2 separate regions of the Homo sapiens genome follow, and region 2 is linked to region 1. The links are contacts of gene promoters, found by promoter capture Hi-C in blood cells and fetal thymus (Javierre and others, 2016). All regions are on one chromosome and are shown on one strand. The core of a region is centred on a gene start or on the middle of the fragment in contact, and the rest is flanking DNA. Distances in the headings are between cores, read along the strand shown.

Region 1 (3,194 bases), core at 56-2,555:
ACACAACCACAAGTGCATTCAAACAGATTCAATGCAGCATTCTTTCAAAAACATCTTGCTAAATTAATGTCGAATGCAATATGGACACTACAAGGGCCTTGATCTTCTTTAGGAAAAACAAGGACACAAAGAATCAATGAAACCTGAAAACACTGAAGACTAAGAAGAGCAGTCTCCAAATAAGAAAACTATTTTTGAGCTGCAACTAAAGACAGACCATGATATCTTCTGGCTGGCCTTACATAGTTGAAGGTTGTTTTCAAGATGATAACTCTTTTTTTTTTTTTTTTGAGTCAGAGTCTCACTCTGTCACCCAGGCTGATGGAGTGCAATGGAGCGATCTTGGTTCACTGCAACCTCCACCTCCCAGGTTCAAGTGATTCTCCTGCCTCAGCCTCCCAAGTAGCTGAGATTACAGGCACCCCCCCACCACGCCTGGCTAATTTTTGTATTTTTAGTAAAGACAGGGTTTCACCATGTTGGCCAGGCTAGTCTCAAACTCCTGACCTCAAGTGATCTGCCCGCTCCAGGCTCCCAAAGTGCTGGGATTACAGGCATGAGCCATTGCTCCCAGCTTCATTATTTTTTTTTATTTTTTATTTTTTCTGAAATCACCAGCAAGCATTGAACACTGGGCTTAATTATATATACCAAGGCTCCCTCAAGTTGTTATGTATATTTGAGGAATATACATACCCTATTAAAAAAAAATCACCCTGTAATGATCCTGGTCAAAAATCAGTCTGTTAACATGAGTGGAAGTAAAACAATAATGGTTCTATTTTCATTCACAGAAAATAAATCCTTCCAATCTCCAAGTTGTACTTGGATAAGCCCAAGAGAAAAGATATTTTCAGGTCATTACGTATTCAACTCAAATAGGTCAATCATTTTAATAAATCAAAGAGGAGCATTAAGATGCAGTAATAGTAAATGAATACTAAAAACCTGCATAGTTAACATACCAAATGAAATAACTTATAAATCTCTAGAAAGGGACCCTATGCCAATGAATTTTAAAACAATTTGTTTTCCAAATATTACTGTTTTCTATGCAACCAGATCTGTACCATCAATTTTCTGGAATAATATACTCTATCTGCTATAGCAGATTAACAAAATTGGATCCAACAGTTTCTTAGCAACTGCAGATGCTTTTAAAATCCTTTGGCTATACTCTTTATGATATAGGACAATGGTCTCAAGTTTTTAAGAGTAGTGACGTTCAAGTCAATGTTTCATGAAGTTTAACCTAAATTTATTATGATTCATAGCTTCAACTCAGAGTTCTAGAAATTTTGAGTTGTTACAGTTCCAAATTCTGAAAGGTTGCCTCATCGCTGGAAATATGTGTAATGTTGGAGCAATGCTAGATTATAAAATTTATCGTTAATTAATAATGAAACACACAAAGGTAAGGTGACTTTTCTTAGAGACCAATTTAAAGAATTTGTTGTAACCTCATTCAATGCCAAAGTGTCAATTACTTTCTATAGATGTTTATTGATTTAGACATTTGGTTTCACATGGTGTCACTGGTAAATTGCCTTTCTTCATTTGTACACTTCAAGGTACAGCGAGGAGCTGTATAGTAGATGTGGCTTCTCTTTTCCTCACTTACCTAGGTTTTGCCACATGCTGAAAATTTCACAACCCATTGTTACCCGCATGTCACCATACCTGAAATAGAACAAAAAACCAAACCTGATACAATGCCTCCAGAACAAGGAAGTATTTGTGTGTCTTTAGGATACAATCTATCATTCTGAATTACAAGGCAAGGAGTTTTTAATTAAAGACATTTAATATACATGTCACGATGCCTCTAAGTCAAATTCTGGTGTAAACCTTTTAGTAAAAGAGATCTGTTTCATAATTTTTTGCATCTATAGAAATTTTGAATCCTGAAAGAGCCAGGTCAAAACAATGTGCAAACATGTTTGAAATATCAAAACATCCAGAAAAGACTGCTTCTTGACCCCTTGGTCACTGGTTCTTCACTGTGTGATTTCCAGTTATGCGCATTCTGATTTATGAATCATTTGAACTAAATACTCTTTAAGAGGCAACATTTCTCACCTGATTATACACTGATACTTACTTTTCTAACACCTTTTTCTTCTTGGAAGGTGTGAACATCTCCAACTGCAGACACAACTGGTTTATAAAAATGACTGCGAGGTAAAAGTAGGAATCCCAGATCTAAAACAAGAACAAGATATATCAATACTATGGTGTTACAAGCATATTGACAGGTGAAGTGACATAGTATTTTGGATTTGCTTCAAAAGTGGTTGAGGGTATAGTTGAAGTAAGACTGACCATGAGTTGATAATAGTTGAAGCTGGATATGGGTACCTCATGGGGGTTCATTATACTATTCTCTCTACTTGTACATATGCTTAAAATTTTCTAAAGTGAAGAAGTAACTAAATAAATAAGTACTATTATTATCTAGGTGTATATTGCTCCAAAGCTGTATTCCAGGTTTCACGAGCTTTTTGGTATATGCTAAAAGACAGATGCGTGGTTTCTCTTGTAATATGTCTGAGTATCTCCAAGAGGATGAGGTATAAGATGGATTTCTTTATTCCTGTGTGAGTTCATTTTTGGAACTCCTTTTAACGTAGAACTTGTAAAAAATGCATACACTTCTTCAGATATGCTAATTGCTTTAAATTCAGACATTATATAAAAATTCCCTGCCCAGGCAAATCTTTTAAGTTTTCTTATACCAAAAAACAGAATCAGAAAGAGATCTGAATAAAGTTCCCTGAAATAAACTTAGCAAAAAAAAAAAAGGACATAATGGAAGGAACACACTTCTCCACTGACACCATGTAAAATTAAAGACATAACAAACCAGGAGACATATGACACAGAATCAGTATCTGTTATACGTAAATAGCTCTTACAAATAAAAAAGAATATAATAAAACCCTAAGTAAAATAATGAATAAAAGTCAAGAACAGTCCAGGTGCGGTGGCTCATGCCTGTAATCCCAGCACTTTGGGAGGCCGAGGCGGGTGGATCACAAGGTCAGGAGTTCGAGACCAGCCTGGCCAATATGGTGAAACCCCGTCTATCCTAAGAATACAAAAATTAGCCAGGTGTGGTGGTGCGCTCCTGTGGTCCCAGCTACTCAGTAGGCTGAGGCAGAAGAATTGCTTCAACCTGGGGGGCAGAGGTTGCA
Region 2 (3,260 bases), core at 83-2,582, 3.1 Mb before region 1:
TCCATTTCTCTCTGTAAGAGCAGTGCAGACTAGTTGCTTTTAGTTGGCCATCTTGGCCAACCCCCTGGCAAAATTAGTTTTGAACAGTGCTTTTGTCCATGATTTGCAACTCTGATTTTAGTGTCACCTCTCTAATGACCCTTGAAATTTTAAAGATGTTGTTATATTTATGCCTGAAATATAATTGAAATTTTTTTGGCACCATAATTCCAACAATTTAAGTTTTGTAGGTGAAAGTGTCCTTTTGTGTCAGATCTGGAATGACTCTTTTAATCCAGTGGATCATGTGTCCTAAGCGTGTCCAAGGTCTTTATTGGCATTGCCACAAAACATAACCTTAAAAAACTGTTTAACCACATTCCACTCCTTTTACACTTTTTATTTCTTAATTTCAAATTATGTTTTGTCTGTTGTCCATTCACTTGGGAGTCTGATTCTGGCACCTAATATATTAACTGTCCACCCCAGGTTCATGATACCCACAGCAGTACCCATGAAAGAATTGTGTGTGTAGCTTGATAAACTTCCTCTATTGGGTAGCTCCATACTCTGTTTTAATAGATCTTTTTTCTTGACTACTACTAATAACTTCATCAGCATGGTGTATACCATAAGTTCTCAGCATTTTCTGCAACCCTTCAATCATCCCCTTACCTTCTCCAAAAAAAAAGCCCATGTGCTATATGGCACATATTGTATGTCCTATGTGACATGAATGATAATGAGCTTAATTAGGAAAAACATATCTCTGCTATTGCTTTAACTAGGTAAATGCATTTTCTCTTAATAAACTCCTTAGGGAGACTCAATTCTTAATGCTACAAGAATCTATGCTATAGGAAAGCTGTAGAGGAATACATTTTTAGAAAGGAGAGCATTTTCTAGACATTTATGTTAGAGTCACATGTTGATCTGGCCTCTATATCCTCCTTTTCAGACCCGGGAGGTGAATTCATTCATTCATTTATTCAGTAAATATTTATGGAGGATCTGCTCTGTGTTAGAAAATGTTCTTGACACTGGTTATTTGTTAATAACAAAGACTCCATCCTCATGGGTTTACATTCTAGTGGAAGAGACAGGCTATGAACAGATAAATGTTATATATCAGGAGATAATACATGCAATGAAGAAACATAAAGAAGGTAAGAAGGAAAGGAAGTTCTGGATTCAGGGCTTACTATTTTATATAGGATAGGGAAGGCTGCTATATAAGATGATATTTGTACAGACATCTAAAAGATGTGAAAGAATAAGCTACATGGATATTACTGGAAAAAGTTTTCTGGGCAGAAGAGAAACATATACAAAGAACTTGAGCTTGGGACAGGCTTGGTACATTTAAGCCTTTTTAGCTGGAGCTGAGCAAAGTAGGCAAAAGGGAAAATAGAAGGAGATGAGTCAGAGAGGTAGTGAGAGGTAGGATGTACGGTCCTCTAAGGCATTGGTCTTCAAACGTTAGCCCTCATTTGAGTCATCTGAAGGGCTTGTTTATAATTCGGTAGATGGGGAGTAGGGCCTGAGAACATTTCTAGCAAACTCTTAGGTGTTATGGATGATGCAGTTGTAGGGCATTTGAGGTCATGGGAAATACTTGGGCTTTTATTGACCAATATGAGAACCAAGGGATGGGAGAGAGTGAAGGAGTGACTTGCATTTTAAAAGCACAACTGTGGTTATTGTATGGCAAATAGAAGTAGGAGACCAGGGTAGAAGGAGGGTGTCCAAGTAGTAAGCTGTCATAATAATCAGATGAGAAGAGATAGTGGCTTTGTCCAGGATGGCAGCTATAGAAATTGGGAAAATAAATGTGGTTGAATTTTGGAAACATTTGAAATAAAACCCACTCCATTTGAAGAAAATGGGGTTTTCTTTACATCCCTTGGTGAATATAATTAAGTAATGGCATGAAGAGCCTTTGCTCTACTGTCCCTGGTGATTGGCTCATATTTGGCCCTTACTACATGACTGAAGTTGAAATCTTAATTTTGTGCATATTTTACATACACTAATATATGTGAACAGAATGTCTCAGAATAATTGAACTCCTGTGATAGGTTGTAAGTATGTACTTTTAAAATGCCAGGCATAGGTTCTAGATTTTTATTATGTTTCACCTTTGTTAAATTGATTTAATGTATGTCACATTATGAGATTATTACTGTCAACTCCAAATTTCATTAAATCACTCATATCACAATAGAAGACATTGACAAAAGGCTGGTTGTGCTTTCTGTCTTTTATAGGATTCCTGGAAAATGTCATTATAGTTATGTCTTTTTGCTAAATGGTATTTGTAAGAACTGCTTAACATTTATAGGTGAGACATCAACCCCCTCCCATCCCATGCTTGTCAATCCTGATGCTTTTGCTCCAGAAATCCTCATTTCTACACTGTGATCTCAGACTTTGTTTTCCTATCGGCATATCCTGGTGAGACAATGTCAGCTTGTCTTGTGCCACACTTTGAACCACAGCTATTGTTGTCTTTAAATGGTAACCCAGAGTGAGAGGTCATTCCATCGTACTTTGCCACCAACTCAAATGCTTAGTGCATTTCAAATCATGGCTTGTTAGAGCCAAAAACCTTTATAAATTGCCTTGTTTATTATCTCATCTTACAGATACGGAAAATGAGCCTAGAATAGCTTTAAAAAACTTATTTTTGTATTTTTGTTTTTTTTACTATTATGAGAGACAAGAATGTGTGCTTTAAAAAAGTCTTTACCAGGGGTTGAATAGTAGATACTTTAACAAGACATTTTATCAAAATATCATGGTCGTCATTCTGAGGTCAAAGTTATAGTGTTAACAATATGGTGTGAAATGATCTTGGGAGCAATAATGTGAAGGGGGCAGCTAAGAGATGTGTCTCTTGCAAGTGGATGTGCCTCCATCTTAACCTGAACAGCAGGCATACTGAAAAGAGGAGAAAATGGTTCCTTGTTTCCTCTTGGAGGTCATATCAGTCTTTTGGCTACTCAGAATTGTTTTTGAAGGGCTATCCTATTAATAACTGTGATAAATCTCTGGCGGGATAAAAACAGATTAGTAACTCTATAACGTAAAGCAAAAAATCATGTGTAACTATGTATTTCTCCAGCGAGCCACTGACCCTTAAGCTCACATCATGCCTTAAAGCAGTTGATACACGCTCTTTTTTTAGTCCCCAGCCAAGCACTGATTTCATTTTGTCATATGTTTCTAAGCCTCCAGAGGTGCCTGCTTAAAAGGCAATCCAGGGGATGCTCCTAGAACAA

Evidence for each region. Contacts are between HindIII fragments. The CHiCAGO score rates a contact against its expected background, and 5 or more counts as called.
Region 2: a fragment that was not itself captured here is called in contact with the fragment with the promoter of DOCK4-AS1 in region 1 in 2 of 17 cell types (non-activated CD4 T cells and total CD4 T cells); the score reaches 5.1 in non-activated CD4 T cells.

Annotation. Positions count from the first base shown.
Region 1 is chr7:111,807,200-111,810,393 of GRCh38, forward strand. DOCK4-AS1 (DOCK4 antisense RNA 1) reads left to right here and starts at 1,306. Exons shown (of 2, transcript NR_103806.1): 1 at 1,306-1,414. DOCK4 (dedicator of cytokinesis 4) reads right to left here. Exons shown (of 53, transcript NM_001363540.2): 29 at 2,102-2,202; 30 at 1,622-1,680. The HindIII fragment of the contact is 9,376 bases long and covers 1-3,194 here.
Region 2 is chr7:108,746,505-108,749,764 of GRCh38, forward strand. No RefSeq gene overlaps it. Among named protein-coding and RNA genes, the nearest start is that of LINC02903, 140 kb to the right of the region's middle. The HindIII fragment of the contact is 5,995 bases long and covers 1-3,260 here.